Regions from separate parts of the Homo sapiens genome. Here region 2 is linked to region 1. Evidence: promoter capture Hi-C in human tissues and cell types (Jung and others, 2019). All regions are on one chromosome and are shown on one strand. The core of a region is centred on a gene start or on the middle of the fragment in contact, and the rest is flanking DNA. Distances in the headings are between cores, read along the strand shown.

What was found. The method cuts DNA at HindIII sites, captures the fragments that hold promoters and counts their contacts. A contact is called where the count stands out against the background at its distance.
Region 2: a contact is called between a fragment that was not itself captured here and the fragment with the promoter of DPYD in region 1, in 1 of the 25 tissues and cell types used here (dorsolateral prefrontal cortex).

What each region holds. Positions count from the first base shown.
Region 1 is chr1:97,917,974-97,925,007 of GRCh38, forward strand. DPYD (dihydropyrimidine dehydrogenase) reads right to left here and starts at 3,061. Exons shown (of 23, transcript NM_000110.4): 1 at 2,911-3,061. The coding sequence starts at 2,949. RefSeq lists a silencer at 2,867-3,266. The HindIII fragment of the contact is 7,083 bases long and covers 1,246-7,034 here.
Region 2 is chr1:97,147,442-97,154,475 of GRCh38, forward strand. All of the region lies in intron 20 of DPYD (dihydropyrimidine dehydrogenase), which reads right to left. The region is part of intron 1 of DPYD-AS1 (DPYD antisense RNA 1); the gene reads left to right. Among named protein-coding and RNA genes, the nearest start is that of DPYD-AS1, 55 kb to the left of the region's middle. The HindIII fragment of the contact is 8,159 bases long and covers 1-7,034 here.

The sequences.
Region 1 (7,034 bases), core at 1,811-4,310:
TGAGGCCTGGGAAAGTGACCAATGTCCAATACTAACCTTCTTTGAAACCATCCCAGGAGAGTTTGTATTAAAGTCATCGTTGACAAAATTCAGACTGTATCCAAACAGTACACTCACAAAGCAAAATAACTTCTAAAAGCATATAACTACTATTAACGGACTTTAAAATGCTAATCATTTCATTGGAAGTGATTTTCCTGAGAATAAGATATATTTTTCTGTTATCTTTATTTTTTAACATTTTTGTCCTTTTTCCCAACAAGATGCTGTCAACTTGTGACATTTGTTTATTATCCTTAGCAGATTTTCCATGTGCAATTCAGAGAGGCTAACTTGCCCAAACACACAGCTTAAAGTTAGACCTCAATCAGAGGCAGTTGGTTTCAGAAGCCAGGCTCTGAACCACATTAATATATCTGAAAAAAAACATGATTTCTCATGCAACTTCTATGATTACAACAACAACAACAACAATTCTGAGTAATGAGCTAGGTCCTATTACCAAGTAACACATCCTTTCCTTGCCTATCTCCCAGCCCAGGGATATTCCAGCTATGGAGTTTGGTGATCTGATTGTTTTCCATGTTCCTAACCGTCAAATCCTGATGTGATATTGGATTCAGACTAGAAATTATGAAGCAGGCACACAAAGCACCTTTATATATACCTCAATAACTTTTCCCCCAGAAACAAAGATATTTCTTGGCTGTTTCACTGAAACCTGAGGTTCTGTAGTTAGCTCATAGGGAAAAGTCAGTCACTATTAGAGTAGGTTGTTATCATCACCTTCTGTTCTTTTAACAATTGTCAAGTACTTTTCACATTTATCAATGTGTTCTTATCACATTCATTAACTGCTTCATACCAATATTTTTAAAATATTACTTGCTTATCCATGTATTTGAAGCTAAAACAATGATCACAATCAGATCTCTAGACAATGGTTGTAATGAATTTGTTCAAGAAAAGCATTCAAATTTGATGGAAAACTGAGCCTTTATAATTCATTCTAATTCTTCAACACAAAAATGAACTTTGGTAAATCAATAGGATCAACTGAGGCATTTATGCTTGAATGTGCTCCCCTAAGCTTAATGTATTTTTCCTCACTGCATTATATTTTAATGATTAATTTCATGCTCTTTCATGGTATTCTAGCTCATGAATCACGGGTATTACTTTGAGGGAAAAGTAAGGTGCTGTGAGTGATGAAAGATGTTACTGATTAAAGTGTTGCACATATGAACTACATAAGAGCTGAAGGTGTTTGAACACCAGCAATCTAGATTAAAAGTAATATTAGGCAAACTGGCCATATAGACTAAGGTTGAATTGAGTGGAGGGAGTGGGAAGGATGGGCTTCTTAAATGTTCTTAGTTGAAACAATATATGAAATCAAGCTTGGCATTCAATGTTTCACTGGCATCTTTCTCCTCAGTAGAATGTAAGAACTGATTTCGAAGACAACTGCAGAGAAAGAAATCAGTTAAGCAGATAACACACCATTCTGAAATTAAAGAGCCAAAAGCCACCCATCCTAAGTCAACTCCGATATCTTAAATCAATACTGCCTTAATACTGTCAGAAGCTTGTTTTTCGACTTAGTAAATAAAATTTTTTAAAAAGTTAAGTCAAAGTCACAAGGACCAAAAAGGAATAGACTACCCTAAATGAAATATAGAAAAAGACAAGTATCTATTATCCTGCACACAGATGAACAACTATTTGTTAAATATATCATATTGCTCAATATCAAAAAGTCAACTCTCCAAAACAGAAACCAAAAGTAAACTAACCAGAGATGTCCACATAATACACTTTGGCTCTTGTTACTAAAATGATTTTTCAAACCAAGTTATGGAGCCTGGAGAAAACAGGACTACTTCCTCCCAGAATATAAAGTTTCTTCAATTACGGAGGCAAAATGTGGCAAAAGCAGCTATTTTGCAAACAGGTGGTTTGCAAAACTTTTACTTAAGCCGCCAAAAGGACTGACGAAAGGAAAATTTTGTTATTTCTAAAGAAAACACACACACACATAATTTTCTACCAGAGTAGAAGACTCAAATAAAGAAAAGCCCCAAACAAAACAGAAAACTAAAAATCAGTTTGTCTTAGCTCAAAAGTGCTGACCTAGGTTTAGTATGTGTAAAATCACTGTTGATAATTAAATCCTTTTCATCGCATATATTAAGATACTAGAGAGAAAGGAAATGCCATGTCGTTTCAGGTAGGACCTTATTTACATAAAAAAAGATTTTTTTTAACAGAAACGGAGTGCAAGAGGGAATCAAAAACCGTTGAGAGGAGAGAAAAATACAGTTAGTTTTTCTGAGGGCACTGCATTTTTCATGTTCTGAATACTTCGTTCCATTCTCTCCATGTTAAATTATTTCATAAACAATACTATGACTAGAGGCGACTGCTACAGCTGACACACAGATGTTTTATTTCTATGCTTCACCTTTGCAAATAGCAGGATTCAGCTATTGGAAATGGGGGCAGTGGAGGTGTCCAGAAACGACATACAGGAGGTGAAGGGGTAGAACGTGTGGGAAATGGGCACTCCTACCCCCTAGAGTCCACCTCTCTGGAACTCCAGTGCTTCTTCAGTCACTGACATTCAGAGGAGGACAAGACAGGCTTCCTGAAATCTCTTCCGAAGTAAACAGGTCCCGACGCAAAGGGCAACCCCTCCAGTAGCGGAAAGTCCTCCCCTGAGCTCCCCGCCTGCCCACGCGGGCCTGTGGCTCCGCGCTCCTCCGCTCCCCCGCAGAGCTCCCACGGGGGAAACTTTCCCGCGTCTCTCACTCTCCGGGGTGCGGGGGCCGCGGGGGCCTCCCCGGCACCTACCCGCAGAGCACTCCCCACCACCCCGCCACCACCGACGAGCCGGCGCGAAGTCCGTACCTCGATGTCCGCCGAGTCCTTACTGAGCACAGGGGCCATGGCAGTGCCTACAGTCTCGAGTCTGCCAGTGACAAACCCTCCTTGCGTCCTCAAGCTCCAGCCAGAGAGCCAAGTGACAGCAGCCGGAGCGCGAGTCGAAAACAGGCAGACTAGGGCCGGCGGCGCGGGGGCGGAGCGGGCGCGGGGCGGCAACGCCCCCGGGGCGGGGCTGCGCTCTCGGTCCTGCGGCTCCCGCGCCAGGCACGGCAGCCGCAGCCCGGCCTTCCCAGTTCAGCCCGCTCCGCGCCCCAGCCTGCAAGCAGAAGGGAGGGAGGGAGTAGAGCACCCGCTCTGGGGACTGGCCTTTAATCTCTAAACTGCTAAAAACAGAGCTAGGCAGGCGGGGCCAGATAGGAGGGATCCCCAGGCAAAGGTAAAAGCAGTCCGCGCTCCAAGCAACAACTTGCACTTTTTCTTTTCTTCCACAGAAACCCCGCGAGATGTAGATACATTGTTTGAGGGGCAACTGCATTTTCAGGAACTCCTCAAGGATGAAATAGTAGATGTTCCTCCATCCATCCACCAAGTAGGTGGGCGGGGTTTGAGCTGCAGTGGAGGATACCAAAGCACCGGTCTTCTGAGAGTTCACAGCCCCAGCGGGGAGGGGAGGGAGGCGAGCAAAAACATCCACAGCCCGCAGCAGCATACAGGAAGTGCTGCAGGTGGTACATAATCAAGGTTGTCTTTTTGCAGGAAAGTCTCATTTTAATGGTTATTTTTTTAAATATTTTTTATTCTAAAACGTGAAACTCTTTTGAAAAGTTGCTCTTCGTTTTTGCTCTAGAGCTTGCTGAGGAGAAGGGAGAGATTTCCTGTAGAGTTGGTCCCAATCCAGAAAACATTCACCTCGTTTTTTGAGGATATGTGTACTCCAGACCTCTCTCCTTTTCTCCCCGCCCCCCCCCCACCCCTGTTAGATGCATCCCACCTCTCTTCTACCATAACACTTTCTACTTCCGTTAGGACATTTGCGGCACTCCTTCATGCACTTGGCTAGGTAGTGACACCTTGGAGTCAAGTATTTCTCCCTTATTATTTTTTCATTAGTCCATTCATCGTTTTATTCAACGAATATGTTTATTGAGCATTTTCAATATGCCAGACACAGACACTGTGCTAGGTTCTCCGGATATAGTCTTCAAGAATACACATCACTGTCATGGAGATTATACTCAAAATAAGCAAGTAAGAAAATGTGATGCCTGCTTGTAAGATAAAAGAAAAATAGGACAGAATAACTAGGGTATGGGTACCTTGCGTGGTTGAGAAGGCTTCTCTGAACAAACCATCAGATTACCTTCCAGAACCTGGAAATTACTAAAAGACAGATACATTTTTCTTGAATCAAATATTAACAGACACTAGAAAGTTAAATGGAAACCTTAGAATCATCTTTGACTCCTTTATCCTTATTGCCTCATTTAATCTATGCCCAAACTCTCAGAAGTCAACCTCCTAAATAGATTTTGAATCATTCATTTCTCCATTTTGCTGCATCCACCATGGTCCAAGCTACTGGTATTCTAGCTTCTATTCTTACCTCATATCCATACCAGATTGAGCTTTAGAAAGTATTAACTGGCTCATGCCATACAACGATACATCCACACACCCAGGTACCCATGGTATAAATCCTTCAATGGTCCATTGCAGTCAGAATATAATACAAACTCCCTAGTAACCGCTGAATAACCTGCTCTACTCCGCTTCTCCGCCACTCTTGCCCTGACTCATTATGTTCCAACCACAAGGTAATCTTCTCATCCTCCATCCACTTCTCTACCTTTGCACATTGCCCTCCACTTGGAGCTCTTCTTCCCCTTCTACTCATCATTTAGGTCTCACTGAAGCCTTTATGATCTAACCCCATCACCAACAAAATTACACCCACTCTGTCTTTTTCATTATATTTCGTCTTCATAGACTTTTCAAATGTTGTTTAAATATTTATTTGAATGTGATTCATTTAATATATGTCTTCTATTTAGAGAGGAAGCTCCAGGAAGAGGGGGCCCATGTGTACTTTTATTGTTTACTGGATACTCAGTTCCTAGCTCAGGACTGAAGCATAAGAGACCAAGAACACTTGGTGATTGAATGAACAGAGTACATTCGTTTATACACTGGGCAGTTCATTTTAGAAACTTTAGTTTCTCTGCATCACATATTCTCATTGTCCTACTTACTGCTGAGAAATAGGTCACAATATCTATCAATGAATTTGTAGTTAAAATGGGTCAAAATAACTACTTATCTTTTCATGGAGTAATGTTCCAAAGTCAGATGTTCCTGCATCTCCCTACAACCACACCTTACCCACTTACTCTAGATCCTCTTGGAGATATAGAGAGATAGATAAATCTATCTATATCTATTTTTCTATCAGTCTATATATATAAATACACATATAAACACCCAAATACATACATACATATACACACATATGTATATATTGAGAAAAGATATACACATATAAACATATATAAATTTACAAATATAATATATATAATTATAATACATATGATTTCTTCCCCAATTTAATCAGTCAGGTTCAATGTTCAATTTCCTAACTTACAGGGATACAGGCTTATTGCTCTTTCAGGTTACACTTTAACATACATCTTATCAGTTAGCAATTGATAGTTAATTTATGTGTACAAGAATCCAAGTTATCTTTAAGAGTTATACAGTGTATTTTCATATTCGTTTTCTGTTATAATTCTCCTAAACAACTATAGAGGATAAGTCCAATATACGGTGGTTTTCCAAAGATAAGAGTTTCATCGGTGATAGTCAATAATCAAATATAAAATTTAAATGCTATTTACCATCCCCCCCAACTTCATCAAACAGATGTATCCTGTTCTGACATATTAATTAAGGCATCTAATCACATTGCTCACGTGCCACACCTATGCTCTGTGATCAGTGATTTAATCTAATAATATTTTAAATTCATTGAAATTGCACATTAAGCACAGTTGTACCTGTAAATAATGCAAGCTGTTTAAAGCTTTTACTGCAAATGCATTTGCACCACACTTTTTAAAAGTTGTAAATTATGATGGCGTTTGTCAAGCTGTCCCTCCATCTGGAAGCACAGTGAAATATCAGGTGTTCCACATTAATTTTTTGTAGGCTTTGGAGAAACAGCTTATGTTTGAACCTAATAGTTTACAGTACATAAATGAATATTATTACTACCAAAGTCAGAAGTAGGACTTATGAGTCATCTTTAATTTCACATCTAAAAAGTTATTCAATATTACAAATTTAGAAACACAACAAAAATTCAGATTTCCATATGCCTTTATTTTCCCTTTGCAGTGTAGCATTAAGAGATTTTTTTTGGTGGGGGACATTTCTTTGAAAATGATTTCCTCCCAAAAAGTCAGAGGCTGAATGATCATGAGGTGCATTTTTTCCGCTGTCTGATTTTCAAGGGCCAAATTAATTCCTACCCATATTGACCAGTAGGATAATGACTAAAGATCAGTTAGGCCCAAATATTTCCAGCATTCCTGTTAAAAAGACCAAAAGGAATACGTTGGTTCATATTTCATGGAACAAACAGTATAATGTGCTCAACTACATGTCTATCATATTGCATATATAGATATGCAGTATATCAGCATGTATTATGTAAATGCCATAAAAAGCACAGATAACACAGAGAAACTACAAACCTCTCCCATAAATTTATTTAGCAATTATTTATTGAGTACAATTGTTTCAGACACTGTCATAAGCATTAGTGACATCTCAGTGGACAATAGAGACATTGTCTCTGTTACCACAAACCTTTAGCCACTAAATGAAAAACAAAAATTGCCGCTTAGTGATTTTAAATGAGTGGTTTAACTGAATGGATTACTATGAGAGTCAGATGTCAAAATATATGCAATAGTATTTTGTAAATTGAACAGTGTCATATAAATTAAATATTACAAATTTAAAGATATAATCTTTCAATGCCCACGTTCCCACGTTCTAGAAAAATGTCATTAATGCATGATTGCCTATGAAAGATTTTGGGTAAAATGCAGTGTAAGGGGAAAGTTTATAGACTTATCTAACTTAAAGTG
Region 2 (7,034 bases), core at 1,909-4,408, 770 kb before region 1:
AATCCCTTACATTTGTTGGTCAAGAAGTATCACTGAATGCTCTGAATCAGAAAATAAGCTTTGGAAAAAATAAACTGGCAGTGATATGTAAAGGGTCTGGAGAAGGAGAAGCTGGGAGAAGAAAGTCTACAGTTATAGCGCAGAAGAGTGGTCCTAAAAGCCTAAACCAGGATATTGATATTTGAGATAAAGATAAGACTATCCAAAATGCTCCTTCCTTTTCCTAAATATCCCAACTGTAAGACTTACACATATTTCTCAAGTTGTATAAAATCTTCTCAATGTCCTCTACGTCCTTAGCCCATCAGTCCATCTTATTTTCATGTTAAACTCTTCTGTGCATCATGTCAGGCTCAGTGATTGTGGAGCGAGTAATAGCTCTCTTTTACTGTACTTTGAGAATGGGTAGAATCAAGAGGGTGAGTGCAATATTGGTTTATACAACTTGGTATAGCCTAAGTTGGTAAGCATTTTCTTTTACCCTAAGTTACAAAGTGTGTGCACTTTGGATAGATACATGACTACTTTATTGTAGAGGCACAGGTTTGAGAAGGGAGATAAGTGCAAGGCAAACCAGATCCCTGAGTAGGTCTCGGGAGATATAAGCTAGAAACTCTGCCCACAGCCTGAATTATGGAAGCCTGCAACTGTAACAAATGTCCTGGGATGAAATGTCTGGAGCCTTAAGCTGTCATGCATGACAAGAACAGCTCTTTAGTGCCAGAGGTCTCTGTCTCTGGGGCACTGGTATATCCCTCCATTGCCCATGTGTTCTTCTGTTTGGTGTATGTGTAGGGTGTGTGTGTGTGTGTGGGGGGGGTGTGTGTGTTCTTTTGGGATATCTGCTTTGAAATTTCATCATCAAACTAGGCTTTTCCCTGATGAAAGTTCCATACTATAGAGAAAACATCCACATTTGCTTGCAGTTTGTGCAGCTTAAACTGAAGACAGATGTCTTGTGCAGCAACCACAATATTTTCATTTATCTCTTAATAGATTTCCATCTAGGAATCAAAAGTCTGATTTTATTTTTCAACTCTGATGATGAATACTAAGAATTATTTTAATTATAGATCTATTTCATTCTGCAGGAAATAAGGAGAGGCATTTTGAAGTTTTTTTCTTTAAAGACCTCAATAATATTTATCTTCTAAATGGGATTTTCATACATACCATGACAATCTTATGGATTACTACATATTGGGAGATACCTACTATGGAATCCCTGGCAATATCTAGTTTTAATTAAAATGAAATGTCATAATAATGTCATCCCACATTCTGGTGTCACGACAAACATCTTTGAACTCCTGTGATTAAATAAGCAGAAACACTTGATAAAACTTCTAATGATTCTTCTAAAGAAACGAAAAATCTTACAGTTCATTGTTTGTATCTCCTTTACAAGTATATCCTTTCTTGTATTATAGCTATTTAGATCTTAACTTTCAACTCAGTTATAAGCTCTTAATAGAAAATACCTGCATCACTCTAAGTTTACAACAGAGTCTTTTGTACGCTTTGGGCTTGATAGATATTAATGAAATGGAAAGGTAAAGGTAAATGTTTCACGCCCTTTGGAATTAATCTCTATTGTACATACATAACATGCAGATGCACTAACAGAAGATGACAAAAATTAGCAATCTTTTGAAAACTAGTATTTACTAAATGGATGTAATATGTGTTGATTATCATAAGTTAGGATTGAGTAAACAATTAAAATGCTCTACTTGGACCAAATTGAAAGCCCATATTACTGGCAATCTGATACAGAATTATAGCTGTGTTTCACTTGTGAAATAGAGATAACTTTTTTTATTTTTTTGTAACAGAGTCTCGCTCTGTCACCCACGCTGGAGTGCAGTGGCATGATCTTGGCTCACTGCAAACTCTGCCTCCTGGGTTCAAGTGGATTCTCCTGCCTCAACATCCCAAGTAGCTGGGATTACAGGCATGCACTGCCACGCCCAGCTAATTTTTGTATTTTTAGTAGAGACAGGGTTTCACCATGTTGGCCAGGCTGGCCTCAAACTCCTGACCTCAGGTGATCTGCCCATCTCAGCCTCCCAAAGTGCTAGGATTACAAGCCTGACTCACCGCGTCCAGCTGATAACTTTTGTCTTTCTCCAGTGTCATTATCCTAGTTTATAACATCATCTTGCAACTCGATTTCTATAGTAGACAGTATTAGCTACATAATTTGGGGACCCAATGAAAAGTAAAAATCCAAGCCTCCCAGTTTAAAAATTATTATGAATTTCAAGATGGAGTTGTCAGAGCATTAATCCAAGAGCAGGACCTTCTGAGAGGGAAGCTTTGTGCTATGGCACAGATTGCATACCCACAAAGCCAATTCTGCTAACCACCTCATAATGATGTCTGTAACTTCATTGCATCACATTTCCTATATATTTTCACATAGTAACATTACGATGTATTTGTATATTTTCACCATTTCTGTGTAAAACCATTTGGCAGTTTCCCTTTGCACATTTAATAAAATCCAAATTCTTTGTCATGGTCAACGAGCCTCCACATAATGTGGCCATTGTCAACCTTTCTAATACCATGTGGCGTTACTTCCTCTTTTTTTCTCTAACTTGTGCCACAAAGGCCGTCCTTCAGGTTTTTGCACACCTTCACAAATGCTACTCTCACCAGTGGAACGCTGTTCCCTGGCTCCTCATCCTTCACATATCATTCCAAATATCTCTTTCTCACAGAACGCTTCCCTGATACCCAAATTAAAGTAGCTCCACATTCTCTATTTTTCTTCTAAGCATGCCTTTTCCTCCTGCAAATGTTTAGTACACACTGTATCTTAAAAAAAAAAAACTAAAATAGTTTCTGTCCATGATTAGCTTGTAATCTCCAAGAGAACAAGGACCAGTCTCTCTTCTTCGCTACAGTATGACAATGTTTAGCACATTGCCTACTTCACAGTAGGTGCTTAATAAACATTTGCTGGATGGATGAATAAATGAATGAATGAAAGCACCATTCAAATGTTCAAGAACATTTTTCTCACTATTACTATTATTTTCACGTAGGTAAAATATAATTTGCTTGGGCAACCAGAACTATAATAAGCTCACCCAGGCATTTTCTTGTGGGCACTGGGCTCTCTCTGGGTTCTCCTCTGAAGAAGCCCTCTTCTCAGATATACTGTATATATGAATATTTATTTCTCTTATACAAAAGAGGACCTCAGAGCTAGGTACATCACTGCATCATCTGCTTTCATGACTTCTGGATGGAGTGAGACATGCTTCTTTCTAGGTCCTTCTCTTTTCCATTTTCTATTTTACTTAAAGAGAAGGAGCTGTTAACATATTGAAACTAACCATCCTGTTCTTCTTTAGCTTCAAATAGAACTAAGGCTGTTTATAAGAAACTACACACAAATAGAATATATTGCATCTTCCTGGAATTCTAGTACATTATAATGACAAATGTTTTTCATTGCAATATTCATTGCATTATGTTCAATTGTTTTTGTTGTTGGTCTGGAAACACCAGAAGTGTAATTACTAGCTTTGATAAAGTAATAAAGTCAATGGAATAAACTATGCTTGGATTATGGCCTCTTGTTATAAGATAAGCAAAGCTAAGTCAATACCCAATAAAAATTAATACTGATATCAAATCCAGCTATCTTATGTTCAAAATGAGAAATCATTACCTTCTCGTAACATTCTTCTATGAAATGTGTTCCTTTTAAAACATTAAAACTGTAGAAACATTAAAATACTTTACATATATTTACATATACCTTACTGTATTTGAGAACATATATAGAGATTATACAGATATAATCGTACATATATATGAGCTCTTTTGATTCTTTACAACAGTGCTGTGAAGTCAACTGGGAAGACTGAATTATCTCCAGTCTCTAGATGAGAAAATCAAGAATCAGAAAGATTATCTGGGGCTGGGTGCAGTGGGGCTGGGTGCAGTGGCTCATGCCTGTAATCCCAGCACTTTGGGAGGCCGAGGCAGGCAGATCACCTGAGGTCAGGAGTTCGAGACCAACCTGGTCAACATGGTGAAATCCCCGTCTCTACTAAAAATACAAAAATTAGCCAGGCATGGTGGTGGGCGCCTGTAATCCCAGCTACTCGGCAGGCTGAGGCAGGACAATCGATTGAACCTGGGAGGCGGAATTTGCAGTGAGCCGAGATTGTGCCATTGCACTCCAGCCTGGGCTACAAGAGTGAAAGTCTGTCTCAAAAATAAAAAAATAAAAAAATAAAAAAATTAAAAAATGAAAGAAAAGAAGAGAAAAAGAAAGATTATCTGGTACTATGCAATCAGCTATTAATACAGACAGAATCCAAATCTTCAAATCCCTGTTCTTTCAATTTTACTGTTAATATGTTCCAAAATGCATTTTAAATTAAAAACATACTAATGGTCATACTCTACTATTCCATAGAAGAATTTAAAAATGGAAAGTTATTCATGGAACAGTTTTGAAGTAGTATATTATCTGAATTTGTCTAGTATATTTTATTAAGCTCTCTTCAGCCTGTCCTCATCAAAAATAAGTATTACATTAACATTACAGTTATTTAAAAATTAACCTTTTCTAGGCTGGTTTAATTTTATGGATAATGTATTAATCAACATGGCTTGAAGTTTCCTATCAAAATGCAGTCAAGGCCATTTACACTACTATTTTCAGGAATCTCCTTCTGCTACCTTTGTAAAGCATTTACTTCATAGGAAGCATTTCAAACACTACTAGTGGAAAAATACACTAGGCAATTATAGCCAAAGTTTCTACGGATGTGGCTAATTTATTTCCTGGTTTAAACCATATCTAAACGAGATTTAAGAGTTCAAGAGCTGGGAATGAATGGACAATTGGGTTATTTTGTATTCTGTGGAGTGAGATTTGCAGTCAATGTCAGTATTAAATCTAGGTGTAAAATGCAAAGGTGCGAAGTTTGAATGATGCCTCCACTTTGTTAGGTGATGGCTGAATCACATACACACACACACACACACACACACACACACACTTACATAAACACATTGAATATATACACAAATACATGCAGATATAGTTAATATCTATAAATATATCTATTAAATTATAATATTAATGTCACGTAAAAATACACAGATACCCATATTTAATAATTTTTAAAATATACCATATATAGTACTTATATCTATTGTATATAACATATATATGCAAGGCACACATGTAGATATTGCTGTATATATTCTGTAGACTAATATATTGATATATATAATTATCATATTTATACAATATTATCATCATCAATGTTTTCATCAAGTTGTCACTCTCTCAGGTATAGCATACCTGAGAACTGAATACTTTTCAAGTTTATGTTTAGATGGTTTTCATGGTTGCGTTTTCCCACTGATAAAGTAGAATTTTAAATATAACTTGTCTTATTTTTATCTGTCCTCAATTTGAGTGTGTCCTAGTTCATTAAATTTAGAAATCCCTTCTCATTGCCCCTCTGCCATGTAGTTAATGGTCTGTAAAACACTTAAAAACACTAGAGGAGTTCATTTTTTTAAAAGGGGCTCTATGGAGAAGCCTTCTAAAATGTAAGAGTCTTTTGTAATCACCTATTTATTTACTTGTACTTTAAGTTCTGATTTTCATCTAGTAGAGGCATTCTTTGGTCAAGGCAAAACTGCAGTATTCTCTGTAGCTTAATATGAGTATAGCTGATAACATCATACTTTTTTCCATTACTACTATACTGAAACTAGTCTAGAACCTAATGAGCTGAATTGCTATCCAAAGGAACAGGATTTAGGTTCAGATGGGGAAAAAGAGAATAACAGCTGCATCCACACTCCCTTCCACATGATCTTGTTCATGAGCAATATGATGACCTGGCATGACGTGCAACTTTAGGTCTGGCTCTATAGCCCCAGGAGAACATGGCGAGGACAGTATTAAAAACGTGTCTATCCTATTCAACAAATGGTGCTGGGATAATTGGCAAGCCACATGTAGAAGAAGGAAACTGGATCTTCATCTCTCACCTTACACAAAAATCAACTCAAGATGGATCAAAGACTTAAATCTAAGACCTGAAGCCATATAAGTTCTAGAAGGTGACATTAAAAAAAACCTTCTAGACATTGGCTTAGGCAAAGACTTCATGACCAAGCACCCAAAAGCAAATGCAACAAAAACAAAGATAATAGATGAGACTTAATTAGACTAAAAACTTCCTGTATAGCAAAAGAAATAATCAGCAGAGTTAACAGACAACCCACAGAATGGGAGAAAATCTTCATGATCTATACATCCAACGAAGGACTAATGTCCAGAAGCTACAAAGAACTGAAACAAATCATCAAGAAAAAAATAAACAATCCCATCCAAAAGTGGGCTAAGGACATGAAAAGACAATTCTGAAAACAAATGGCCAACAAGCATATGGAAAAATGCTCAGCATCATTAATTATCAGGGAAATGCAAATCAAAACCATAACACAAAACCACCTCACTCCTGCAAGAATGGCCATGATCAAAAAAAAAAAAAAAAGATGTTGGCGTGGATATCGTGATGTGATGAAAAGGGAACACTTTTGCACTGTTGGTAGGAATGTAAACTAGTACAACGACTATGGAAAACAGTGTGTAGATTCCTTAAAGAACTAAAAGTAGATCTACCATTTGATCCAGCAATCCCACTAATGGGTATCTACCCAGAAGAAAAGAAGTCATCATACGAAAAAGATACTTGCACAACCATGTTTATAGCAGCAGAATTTGCAATTGCAAAAATACAGAGCCAGCCCAAATGCCCATCAATCAATGAGTGGATAAAGAAAACGTGGTAAATATACATCATGGAATACTACTCAGCCATAAAAAGGAATGAAATAATGGCATTTGTAGCAAGCCAGATGGAACTGACTATTATTCTAAGTGAAATAATTCAGGAATGGAAAACCAAACATCTTATGTTCTCACTGATAATTGGGGGCTAAGCTATGATGATGCAAAGGAATAAGAATGATACAGTGGG